Linked DNA regions of Homo sapiens: region 1 is linked to region 2. Evidence: promoter capture Hi-C in 16 types of primary human blood cells and fetal thymus (Javierre and others, 2016). All regions are on one chromosome and are shown on one strand. Each heading gives the region's core, a stretch centred on a gene start or on the middle of the fragment in contact. The rest is flanking DNA. Distances are from core to core; before and after follow the strand shown. Region 1 overlaps SMYD3 (SET and MYND domain containing 3). Region 2 holds the start of KIF26B-AS1 (KIF26B antisense RNA 1).

Region 1 (6,677 bases), core at 1,084-3,583, 830 kb after region 2:
TCAAAAATCATCTTTTTAAAAAACATGTATGGTGGAAACTATGAATGATGAAAGAAAACCCCATTCAGTAACCTGAAGCAGCACGTTATCTTACGAAATAATAAATGATTCATTTATCTTTGGCAGAATCGGGTCATTTTCCTGCCTTTCTCTTTCTAGGGAAATAAAAATTTTACACTTTCTCAAACATTTGGAAGATTGTCTTTCAAAAGCCAGTACAAGGAAGCTTGAGGAAAGCTTTTTATAGCCAAGTATAACAGCTGGCAGTCTAGAAGCCATATACAACATTTTGCTGTTCTACAGAACTTATAGCAGCTCACAAAAGCAAAACCATTTTTATTGAGGAAACAATAAAAATTGTTGGAAATTTTCAAAATTAAATAGTATAGAAGGACTTTTATTGTAATAAAAGTAATCTATAGATAATGTTTCTCATAGTTAACAAAGGTGCCCATTTACCTACTCAAATCCACATTTCTTTTTTTTTTTTTTGAGACGGAGTCTCTGTCGCCCAGGCTGGAGTGCAGTGGCATGATCTCCGCTCACTGCCAGCTCCGCCTCCCGGGTTCACACCATTCTCCTGCCTCAGCCTCCCGAGTAGCTGGAACTGCAGGCGTCCGCCACCATGCCCGGCTAAATTTTTTTGTATTTTTAGTAGAGACAGGGTTTCACCGTGTTAGCCAGGATGGTCTCAATCTCCTGACCTTGTGATCCGCCTGCCTCGGCCTCCCAAAGTGCTGGGATTAAAGGCGTGAGCCACCGCACCCGGCCCACAACTCCACATTTCTAATGGACTGCAAATTCACCAGCGGTAAAAGTAAACGAGGGAGGCAATAGATCCTTTGGGTCTGATGTTACAGCCAACTCAAGTGGCAGGCTTTTGCTAGATTTTCTAAGCCAGCAGAGGCAGGGATAATAAAACACATTTACCTAGAGAAAAAAAAAAATCAAATTAAGATGACTTTAAGTATTCTATACTAACAGAAGAACTATTAAAAGTAGTTAAATCCATTGTTCTGAAAAACTGAACAGAGATATGACCAACTGGAGGTGTTTTGTCTCTCTCGACTCCACTGGCACTAGGACCTTTTTCTCCTATTTTATTATCAAGCATGGTGAGCCAGCCATTGCCATGCCCAAGTGCTGCATATCTTGTGAGTCTAAACTGAAAACAACATATCTCAGACGTTATCTTAGACTTGAGGCTGAGGAACAGATGGATTTAAGAAAAAAAACCATTCCTTTCCTTTTAAAAGGTCTTAAAAACTTTTGAGAAGCTTCAGGAAAAAGGCAAGTAAGATACGATTATTTTGTGGCATAATAAGATTTCATTTTCTGAAACTCAATCAGGAGAACTAATGAAGAAGAAATGTGCCCCTTGCTTGTGGAAGCCAGCTTAAACTGGTAAGAGCCCAATCACTCACAGTATTTGTTAAGCAAAATCCATTTATGTTGGAACAGTAGGCATTTAAGCATTAATATGAAAGTTAAAATAGAGAAGACAGTACAGAATACTTAAGTTACAATTTCAAATTCGACAGTGTTGACAGAGCTACTCCAGAGACCACTAAATATATTGCTTTAAAAAAAAAAGTTGGCGGGGCATAATGGCTCACACCTGTAATAATCCCAGCATATTAGGAGGCCGAAGTGGAAGGATCACTTGAGCTCAGACTCAGGATAGACCAGCCTGGGCAACATTACAAGACCTTGTCTCTACTAAAAGAAAAAAACTTAGCCAGGCATGGTGGCACACATCTGTAGTCCCAGCTACTTAGGAGGCTGAGATGGGAGGATGGCTTGAGCTCAAGAAGTTGAGGCTACAGTGAGCCACGATTATGCCACTGCACTCCAGCCTGGGCAACAGAGCGAGACTGTCTCAAAAAATAAAAATAAAGGTTGCGTTTTTTTTTTTAAACATTATATATCTGAGAAGATCTCCATATATAAATATTTCATTTTAAACAGCTAATTGAAAAGTTCCATACATTTATATGTGAGAACATTTCATAAGGTTTTACCTTATCCTAATCATATCTTAACTCTAAATATTCCGTTTAACGACAAAAATGGCATAACATTCCCAAAGCAGCAAAATGTCTTTCTTGATTTCTGAAGATAAAAAAGGAAAAAAATAGAAAAAGCAGAAAAGCAATAAACTGTTATTCATTTTAATAAATTTTTATGATCCCTCAGTCATTACTAAATTGGATCATATGATAATTTCTCCTTTGGTTATCATTTTTATTGACAAGTTTTCAGCTGTTTTTTCTTCATTTGCAAAATGAGTCCTAGATCTCATGTCTGGCATAATCACTCAGCTCCCATAAAGAAAGACATCCAGGACCCACTTTATCTTCATGTTACTTTTCTAAGCCAGCCCATCAAAAGTCTGAGGAGACAGTCACTCTTACTGCTACTGACAATACCAACTGGTTTAGTGTACACTAACTGGCTGACTACACACATCTATTCCTTTTCATTCCTAACAGAATGCTGATTTTATTCACATATTCATTCTCATTAGAAATAAATGTTTTAGGCCAGGCATGGTGGCTCACGCCTCTAATCTCAGCACTTTGGGAGGCCGAGGCGGGCGGATCATGAGGTCAGGGGTTTGAGACCAGCCTGGCCAACCTGGTGAAACCCCAGCTCTACAAGTACAAAAATTAGCCAGGCGTGCTGGCAGGCACCCATAATCCCAGCTACTCGGGAGGCTGAGGCAGGAGAACGGCATGAACCCAGGAGGCGGAGCTTGCAGTGAGTCGAGATGGCACCACTGCACTCCAGCCTGGGTGACAGAGCAAGACTCCGTCACACGCACACACACAAAAAAGAAATGTCTCAAGTGCTTAAATTCTTGTAAAAATAACTGCAAAAAGATATATGAGTAAGGACTGGTAGGTACCATATGACTATTTCAGCAAACACATATCACCTGGAAAAAATGTGCTGATAGAGTTTCTTTAGGATCAAATGCGTGGTAGGGAAATCCACATCAAGTCCAATAAAATGGTAAAAGAAAAAAAGAAAAAGCCAGGCACAGAGACTCGTGCCTATAATCTCAGCACTTTGGGAGGCTGAGGTGGGAGGATCACTTGAACACAATTCAAGACCAGCCTGGGCAACACAGCAAGACGCCATCTCTACTTAAAAAAAAAAAAAGAAAAGAAAAATTAGCTAGTCATGGTAGTGCATGCCTGTAGTTCCAGCTACTCAGGAGGCTGAACTGGGAGGATCGCTTGAGCGAGGCTGAGGCTGCTGTGAGCCACGATCACATGACTGCACCCAGCCTGGGCGACAGAGTGAGACCCTGTCTCAAAAATAAAATAATTTTAAAAGTTAAAGCTAACAAAATATACACAAAAACCCAGAAACAGTGATGTGAAAGAAGCTTTTGATTCGTTAGTGATGAAATGAGAGCTGCCTTGATAGACCGGCACTATTACAAAGACGTGCATTGCCTGATCAAGAGGTGGTGCTTCTCAGAGTTTCTAAACCAAAGATTGAATTCTTATTTTTCTTCATGGAGGGAAAAAAGGCCACAACGTTACAATATAAAAATCTGAAAAAGGGAAGTGAATTGATTTTTCATCTAACTTAATAAAATGACTTATTTGGCTGATATTTCCTTAGGATCTCAACAACCTCAAGCCAAAACTTCATAGTTTTTCAGGGCAGCACAAACGAATCCCACAGGTTAAATGAAGAGCTGCTCATTAGGACTGAGAATCAGGAAAGAGCCTTAGTTCATCCACATGTGATTCATTCACATCATTGACTTAAAGATCGTCACCATTCATTGTTCCTGAGTGGGGAGAAAAAAATCCACAGAATATTTCCCCGAGATCATAAAGAGGTTAGTCACTGATTTGGGGATCTTTATAGTCTACCATTTGACAATGACTTGGCCTTTCTGCGAGAAAAAACATCCATCAGGAGTACCACTGAAAATGTGCTGAATTTAGAGCACCTCTCCACAGTGACTGCAATTACAGAACTCCTAAATCACTGAAAACACTCTGAATCTTGGTTTTAAACATCTTGTGACACCAGAAGAGGACAAAAATTGTCCTAGTGATGATGAACCTAATATGTGGTGTGTCTGTTTTGGATTACAATTTTCCCAATTACAAATGCTAGTCATTTGGACCACTAACCCAAGAATGCCTTGGTTAATTTCTCAAGGACAAAATGTTTACATATTGATATATTTTAACATTTCATTTTTGAAATGAATGCTATTTTATTTTTCAAAGGCAGATGATGTCTTACCTACCCAGTGTATTTATAACCCCTTTGAACACTTGACCCATATTCCTAAGCATCCTTATGGCACTTAAAATGCCTAACCAGTTCCAAATGTTCAATAACGTTTCAGCAAATGCTTGCTGAATGAATTAATTAATGAGCGAAGGTATGTTGAAAAAAATTAGATTTTCCTGGTAACTTAATTTTGAAATAGAAAACATATAATAATAAATGCTAGCTCAAAATAACCCTAGTAAAGCAATATAAGTGACTACCTTGGAAAACTTACAGCAGAATGCATCACTGCTCCCACTCCCAAACCTGCTACCACTTTTGCGTTCTTTATGCTATGAGAGGTACCACTACATCCACAGCTGACTGCATCAGGAAGAGCCCAAGACCACCTTCAGTTTCAGTTATCTACTAGGCAGACTCTCAGGGCTCGGCACACAGTCGTACTCACAGCTGCAGTTTATTACAGGGAAACAACACCAAGCGAAGTCAGCAAGGGGAAAGGCACATGGGGAGAAGTCTGTGGAAACAGAGTGGGAGCCTCCAAGGGCCTTCCCCCAGGGAGTCACAAGGGAGGCACTTCACTCCTCCTACAAAAAGCTGTGATAACGTGAGAAATGTCCCAGTCAGGGAAACCCATTAGAGACTCAGTACCCAGGGTCTTTATTGGAGTTCAATCGCCTGTAGGCAGCCTCTAATTTTGGACTCCTGGAAGGACAGCAGGGGATCAGCATAAACCATAATGTTGACACAAACAGTTTAGGCACTGTCAGCCACTCTTACCAGATAAGGGGGAAACACTTGCTGAAATCTCAGTTGCTAAATGTCAGCCAAGGGCCAAACTTGTGGGCCTGCCCTTCCTTCCTTTCCTCCTTCCTTCCCTTCCTTCCCTTCCTTCCTTCCCTCCCTCACTCCCATTCCCTCCCCTCCCCTCCTCTCCCCTCCCTCTCCTTCCCTTCCTCCCTCTCTCCCTCCCTTTCTCTCTCTCTCTCTTAACAGTCTTCCTCTGCTGCCCAGACTAGAGTGCAGTGGTATGGTATCAGCTCACTGCAAGTTCCACCTCCCAGGTTCAAGCAATTCTCCTGCCTCAGCCTCCCGAGTAGCTGGGATTACAGGCGCATGCCACCATGCCTGGCTAATTTTTGCATTTTTAGTAGAGACAGGGTTTTGCTATGTTCCCTACGCCAGTCTCGAACTCCTGACTTCAAGTGATCCACCCGCTTCAACCTCCCAAAGTGCTGGGATTAGAGGCGTAAGCCACCACGCCCAGCCCAGGTCTTTTCAAGGATAAGCAGTTTAGGCCTGCTAGGTTAACTCTTTTCTGCACAGCGACTAGGCCAGAAACCAAGAAATAATCCCAATTCCTACTTCTTCACTGTCCCTCATCTCTTCTAGGCCAAATCCTGTCAATTTTGCTCCTGAGTAACTTCCCTGTACTCCCTTCTTCCTGTCCTCACTATCGGGCTTTAATGGAGGCCTCTGTTCTCTCTTGCTCGCATCACTGCCGGAACTCCTACCTTGTCTCCTGCCTATCCTTCCATCCATTCTCCACAGGCTCTTTGCCGGGAAGGCTGCCCACTGCCCTCAACCTCCCGAGCATAGTGGAAAACAGGGCCTTTTTCTGATGTGCCCAAGTTTTCTCTCTAATTTCTCAACACTTTCTCCCTTTTGTACTCTCTGTTCTAGTCAAACTGAACTATTAAATGCAGTTCTCAGAAAGCATGGCACTTTCTTACCTTTGTCACTTTGTTCTGGCTACTTGTCCTCTACCTAGAATGCATTTCCACTTTTGCCTGGGTTAAGAAGTATGTAGGCTTTAGAAGTCAGCTGAGGCACCAACACAAATCTTCCCCAGATATCCCCGTCTCCCAGTCTAATACCTCATGCCTACTCCCCTCCACGGCATTTATCCCACTGCACTGCAATTTCAGTCTATTTTATTGATCTATCCCCTATACTGTGTGTCCTTAAAGGTGGGACTGCGTATCCCCAGTGTCTAGCATGGTCACTGACAAATTGTTCATGTCCAATAAATACTTCTTGACTGAATAAATGTCACAACTTCAGCAGGGTTCCCCTGAGGTCAGCTCCATCCCCCGGCCTTCTAGACCGGACTGAACTTAGACGATTTTGGCACAGACACTGGGAACCGTGCATCGTTCATGTTATCCTCTTTGCATTGGCTTTGTTCAAAAGCTAACAGCCAAATATGTGGTGGTCTTCCTGTGACCGTGTAGGTCTGCAGAGCCTATAATCTGTATACTAATTACACTTTTGGTTTCGACTTACCTTCCCCAACCTCTTACTCTGATTACTTCACTTACACTTTATTTGTATCTTTGTGTGTGTGCATGGTTTTTTCCAAAGCTGAAATTCCTTCTGGACTAAAGCAGGATATAAATAGATATGTATAT
Region 2 (6,832 bases), core at 1,518-4,017:
CACTTAAAAAGAAAAAAAAATTAGATTGGCATCAGCCTTATCAACAGCTACGTGCAAAGCAAGACAAGGATGGAACAATGTTTTCAAGAAAGGTAAGGACCATCTGAATCAAGAATTTTAAATCCAGCCCATCTGTCTTTCAAGTATCAAAGTTATCGAAAAAAAAGTTTTAATCCTACGAGAACTCAGGGACTACTGTCCTAACAACTCCTTCCTAAAGAATATGCCAGAGGGTTGTTACCATCAAACAGAGAGAAGACTAAGGAAATTTGTCAAAATAACTGGTGGTTTGAACAAAAGATGCAAAACTACTTTGAAAGAGGGCTTCATGTTTCAGAGATTAATCGGACGTATCCATCCATAAGATCCTTGCCAAGAAAGTTTGAATAATAAAACAATGGAGCTAGATTGCAATGTTTTCACCAAATCCAGAATCTCTGAAGAAATTAGGATATGGCTTTGGCAGCTCTAGACGCCAAATTTGTAAAGCAAGAGAAGGGAAAAAGTGCAAGTAATTAATGGAGCTTGGAAAAGACCTGAAGCAGGACAGTCAGGAGTAGATGAAAGGGTTTTCTAAGAAAAGAAGTAGAAATGTGGAATTTGGTAAATTTTATTGAGAAGGCACCCGAGTAGATTTAGGCTTGTAGTTCTTACAAACATTAAAAATGTTTTATTGTATTAAAGAGCTAATACTCCTTAATTATGACTTCATTATTTATGTTACAGAGAAGATCTAGATGCACTATTTACCTCCTTTTGTTCCTAACCTAGAAATGGTAGCAAATACATGTGGTTTCATTTGTTTTTTTTTTTTTTTTGAGATGGAGTTTTGCTCTTGTTGCGCAGGCAGGAGTACAGTGGTGCGATCTCAGCTCACCGCAACCTCTGCCTCCCAGGTTCAAGCGATTCTCCTGTCTTAGCCTCCCGAGTAGCTGGGATCACAGGCATGAGCCACCACTCCCGGCTAATTTTGTATTTTTAGTAGAGACGGGGTTTCTCCATGTTGGTCAGGCTGGTCTCGAACTCCCGACCTCAGGTGATCCACCCGCCTTGGCGTCCCAAACTGCTGGGATTAGAGGCATGAGCCATCGCACCCGGCGGTTTCCTTCCTTTCCTCCAAAGTCACGTTGCACATCAATATGTGATTTGGCAATGGTTCTCTTTTTCACTGAGCCCCAGTGAAGCCTCAGAATTCTACTCAACGTAGCACACGAGGCAGCCATTACTACTCTATCTGCATTTGTTGGAAGTTGAAATATATTTGCTATCCCTGCCCTAATTGTAGGGTCTGTAGCCTGATTACTTGGCATCTTCATCTCACTTGTGGAAACTAACGGGATTACAGACGCACTTTCTCAGCAAGCGTTCATTAGTCACTGAGTAAATGACAAACAATGTATGAGGCTCTGGGCATAATGAAATGATTAGGACACATTTCCATCCTCCAAGAGGCTCACAGGGCCCAGAAGGAAGTGAATGATTCTGTAGAATTTGCCTTGTGAATGTGTTACTCCTTAAGTTATATCGAACATTGCAGTGATCAAGAAATATTCTACTTTGTAGAAAGATCCTGGAATCACATAGACCCCAAGTTTTAGGCATGGCAAAACTTTATGCACAATTTCATATGTAAAGTGATTTTCTCTGTCCTCATCCTTAGTACCTTGCTACTCAAAGCGTGACCTGAGGACCAGTGGAAAGATATTACCTGGGTACTTGTTAGAAAATGCAGAATTCCAGTCCCATACCAGATCTCTTGAAACAGAATTCTCATTGTATGAAGATACCCAGGTGACTTGTATGTACATAAAGTGTGAGAAACACTGCAGACTCTTAGTGTCCAGCTAGAACAAGATTGATTTGCCACCTGCCACTTTTCTTTCTCCCTACACACACTTAAAAAAAAATCTCTTAACTAACCACAGACACATATTCCAAATCTCATGTTCTCTCTGTCATAATTTTCTTATTTGTAAACTTAACATGGGAACACTATTAGTACCTGTCCTGTCTGATGAGAGTGAGCATTTGCTGAGATCATGCATCTGTGGTGTTCAGTAGAGTGCCCAGCTTCATAAATACATGTTATTTGTGAATGATATACATGATACTAGTTTAATGGAAAATTGGGACTTAGAAATAATGTTTCGGGCTGGGCGCGGTGGCTCACACCTGTAATCCCAGCAATTTGGGAGGCTGAGGCGGGCAGATCACCTGAGGTCAGGAGTTTGAGACTCCAGCCTGGCCAACGTGGTAAAACCCTGTCTCTACTAAAAATACAAAAATTAGCTGGGCATGGTGGCGGGCACCTGTAATCCCAGCTGCTCAGGGGGCTGAGGCAGGAGAATTGCTTGAACCTAGGAGGTGGAGGTTGCAGTGAGCCAAGATCGCGCCACTGCACTTCAGCCTGGCCTTTAGAACGAGACTCCCTCTTAAAAAAAAAAAGAAAGAAAAGAAAAAAGAAATTTCAACACCGTAGCCTGTTCCCAGTGGAGGAAATTCTGAACTTTCTCGTTGTTGGAACTTTGTTTGATACCTCTAAGTAAATACCCAATAAAATGGTATCTAACGCCCCCCTGCCGGGCTGGGTGGTACCCACACTTGTACCTCGCACTCACACTCACACACGTCACACACCTGTCAGGGGGCACAGCCCCAGGTGAGCCTGAGTGCTGTGCTTGCCTCGTGGGGTGCTCCATGGAGATGGGTCTCCCAGGCCTCAGGGCTTCCTGGGTGCACCTCCCGTTTCTGCGTGCAGGGAGGGATGGCTACAGGACTGGGCGGGAGAACTTTCCCAGTGTGGTGAGGCGTGCTGGTGAGACAGCAGTGTTTCCTGGGTTACATGTGGGCAGGACTGGGTTGGAGATGGGCCCGCAATTTGGCCTCCTGACTTGGGGTGCTCCAGTCTGCAGGTGGAAGTTCTTCCCGGCGGCTTGCAAAGAAGAAAAGCGAGGAGAAGGGCACTGATTTATTCAGCAGGGCATTTCCTTGGTTTGGCTGAAAGCTTTTGACTTGCGTGAGCTCAGCAGGGGAGCGCCGTTTCCAGGCCTCGCAACACCGGCCTGCTATTAAGTGTTTCTAAGAGAATAAAAGCCTGTTGTGTTAAAAGGACTTGCCCTCCGCCAGCAGCAGTGGGCCCATTAGCCAATCCGTTGGACACCCGGTGGCACACAGGCTGGCTCTGCAGGAGGTCCTCCTGGCCTCCTGCCCCTGTGTCTTTCAGAAGGCAGAGTCCGTGGGAGAGATCTGCTTCCCCATCCTCCTGCCTGGTGGAGCTGAGAGTGTCAACTGACACTGTCCCTTCGGCCTCCTCCTCTGTCCCTACTGCGCTGGGTTGAGTTGCCTGTGGAGGGGCTCCGCTTCCCTTCCTTTGTGGAGCTGATGTGTTCAGGAAAATATTCGAATATGTTAGATTTGTATAAACTAGGTCATTACTCTCTTGCTTTAAGGTTATACTTCAAAGGCCATAGTTAATTAAAGGTAGGTGTCCTTTGTCATTCAAAGTGAACATTTGTGTCAGTTCAATAATATTTGCTTTTAAATTTCCGTTAAGACATACGGGTTGGGTGTGGTGGCTCATGCTTGTAATTCCAGTGCTTTGAGAGGCTGAGGCAGGAGGATGGCTCGAGGCCAGGAGTTCCAGACCAGTCTCGGCAACATAGCAAGATCCTTTCCTTAAAAAAAAAAAGAAAAATTAGCCAGGCATGGTGGCATTCACCTTTAATTCTAGCTACTCAGGAGGCAGAGGTGGGGGGATCGCTTGAGCCTAAGAGTTTGAGGTTGCAATGAGCTATGATCACGCCACTGCACTCGAGCTTGGGTGACAGAGACTCTGGAAACAAAGAAAAGAAAAGAAAGGGAGAGACGGAGGGAGAGAGGCAGGGAGGAAGGAAGGGTTCAGAATATAGAAAGAGGGAAGGAAAGGAGGGAGGGAGGAAGGGAATAAGGGTTCAGAATATAGATAGAAAGGAAAAGTCCACAGAAAACTGGAGTAAAGTCTGAAGCTCCTGAAATAATAGTCAGTGTGCTAAGCAGGAACAGTGTGTACAATTTTAAGACATGAGAGTGAAATACCGGGTTTGTCATTTGCATAAGTTTTTGAGTAGTTAGAATAAACAGTGCTTATCGCCTTCCCAAAACACCCCACCACTATAAGCTGCTTGTACACACTGCATCACTTATTTTTTTTTTTTTTTTTGAGACAGAGTCTCGCTCTGTCACCCAGGCTGGAGGGCAGTGGCACCATCTTGGCTCACTGCAACCTCCACCTCCTGGGGTCAAGTGATTCTCCTGCCCCAGCTTCCCGAGTAGCTGGGACTACAGGTGTGCGCCACCATGCCTGGCTAATTTTTCTATTTTTAGTCGAGACGGGGTTTCACCATGCTGGTCAGGCTGGTCTCGAACTCCTGACCTTGTAGTCTGCCTGCTTCGGCCTCCCAAAATGTTGGGATTACAGGCGTGAGTGAGCCTCTGGCATCACTTATGTTTTAATGACCAAGGTGTATACAGGTAAGAAAGTTAAGCATGTAAGTGCCAAGTTCATGTCTTGGTTCTATCATTTACCAGCCATGGGCTTTGGGCAAGTTAGTTTTAACCTCATTCAGCCTCAACGTCTTCAACTCTAAAATGGGAATAAATGTTGCCTCCATCATAGATTTATTGTGAAAGTTAAAGGATATTGCGTATAAAATGGCTTAGCATAGTTCCTGGGACGTAATTGACAATCAATATTATAATTATTAATATGTGAACTATAGGATTTTTATTATTTAAAAGAACCTTTAAGTGAATTTCTTATAAACCTATAATGTTAGCAATGCTATGAATAAAATTTGTTTTATAAGGTTGAAGTTTGGTATGTTGTATTTTCTTGAAGCAAATTTTATAATGCATGCGACTTGATTTTTCCTTGTCCTTTCCTATTTTTGGTAAGAATGTCTAAACCTGAAAACAATGGAGTGTAGAAATAAAAATACATGATGCGGAATCTGAGAATGCCAATGCTAGGGGAAAGGAATACTGAGTGTGTGTGGCCGTGAGCCCCGTGGGGGCTGGGATTTGCTCGCTGCTGTATCCCCAGGGCAGAACACCATGGGTGGCATGCAGTAGGTGCCTAATCAGTGTGTGTTGCTTGAATAAATGAATGAGACCACATAGCCCAACACCTTCATTTTGTAGATGGAAACATAAGGCACAGAGAAGTAAAGTGACTTGTCTGAAATTACTTAAGGCCGATCTGGGACTGAGTCTCTGGTCCGTGTGATCACAAATGCTTCTAAGGCTCACAACGTAGCAGAATTTGTCTGCAATGAAGATCGTGGTGTCTTCAGCAGCACACTGGCTGGCTGGTTATCTCTCTTTCTTCCTCTGTCCTCTGCTCCCTCTTTCTACTTCTTCCCTTCTTTCTTCCTCCCATTCTTGCCCATTGCCCCTGGTGGCGTGTCCTTTGCTAAATGAGGGCTAGACAGATGTAACTTACAGCTCTGTCTCATACCACGCAACTCTAAAGTCCATCCTTAGACTACGACTTAGAGCAGATGTGAATGTTTAACCTCCCTTCTCTCTGGACATATGGCATCATCTTATTTCTCTGTTAGCTGGTCTGCCCTCCTGCCACCCATTTCAAGGCACTGTTGGCTCCTGGAAGCCATCTGGATGGAGTTTTTGTAACGGGAAAGTGCTCCTCCAGCACCCAGGAAGCCTTGGGTGGGTGATGGTCCCTGTGATCACCCAGCCGTGGTAAGGCCTGCTTCCCTTGCTTAGCAAAACCGTACCCTGGTGGATGGTGATGCTGCAGCCGGGGCCCAGGGGGTCTATGAGCATCATGGCAAAAAAGCCTTTATGGGAGCTCCCAGTTTACTACTTTCAGCCTTTCGGAAACACACACATTTCCTTCCATTCTTTACTGGCAACACTGTCTTTTGTACAGACTGTATTTGTTTGGATTAATACAGGGAGTCTGCAAATTTTTGTTCAAATAAGAATATTGTAGCTGGGTGCAGTGTTCCACACCTGTAATCCCAGCACTTTGGGAGGCCAAGGCGTGAAGGTTGCTTGAGCTCAGGAGTTCAGAGCCAGCCTGGGCAACATAGTGAGACCTCATCTCTGCTAAGTAAATAAGTAAAAATTAATCAGGCGTGGTGACATGTGCCTGTGGTCCCAGCTACTTGGGAGGCTGAGATGGGAGGATCACTTGAGCCCCGGAGGTCGAGGCTGTGGTGAGCCATGATTGCACTACTGCACTCCAACCTGGGCAACAGAGCAAGACCCTGTCTCAAAAAAAAAAAAAAAGTTGTTATTTGGCCAGGCATGCTGGCTCATGCCCGTAATCCCAGCACTTTGGGAGGCCAAGGCAGGCAGATCACCTGAGGTCAGGAGTTCAAGACCAGACTGACCAACATGGTGAGACCCCATCTCTACTAAAAAAAATACAAAAATTAGCTGGGCATGGTGGCAGGCACATGTAATCCCAACTACTCAGGAGGCTGAGGCACAAGAATCACTTGAACCCAAGAGGCAGAGGTTGCAGTGAGCCGAGATCGCACCACTGTGCTCCAGCCTGCGTGACAGAAACTTCATCTCATCTAAAAAAAAGAATATTGTCATTTGAGAATCACAAAACTCTGATCTTTTTAAACATAGGAGAGTGATATAGAGCAGTGCTTCTCAAACTGTATTTGATGAAGGACCAGTTTTCAAATTTTCCATATCGTGTTGCAGATCAACCTATCCATCAAAGACAATAAAAATGAATAGAAAAATGGAAAAAAATCCCAAACCCAAAAGACATTAAAAAGTCCTCAATTTTTTTTATTACTCAGAACAATTGGGC

The links. The method cuts DNA at HindIII sites, captures the fragments that hold promoters and counts their contacts. A CHiCAGO score of 5 or more calls a contact.
Region 1: a fragment that was not itself captured here is called in contact with the fragment with the promoter of KIF26B-AS1 in region 2 in 1 of 17 cell types (total B cells); the score reaches 5.4 in total B cells.

The regions. Positions count from the first base shown.
Region 1 is chr1:246,058,405-246,065,081 of GRCh38, forward strand. The region is part of intron 5 of SMYD3 (SET and MYND domain containing 3); the gene reads right to left. Among named protein-coding and RNA genes, the nearest start is that of SMYD3-AS1, 47 kb to the right of the region's middle. RefSeq lists an enhancer at 5,089-5,615. The HindIII fragment of the contact is 2,117 bases long and covers 1,276-3,392 here.
Region 2 is chr1:245,231,750-245,238,581 of GRCh38, forward strand. It overlaps KIF26B-AS1 (KIF26B antisense RNA 1), which reads right to left and starts at 2,768. Exons shown (of 5, transcript NR_151721.1): 1 at 2,638-2,768. All of the region lies in intron 2 of KIF26B (kinesin family member 26B), which reads left to right. RefSeq lists an enhancer at 2,793-3,312. The HindIII fragment of the contact is 7,889 bases long and covers 1-3,002 here.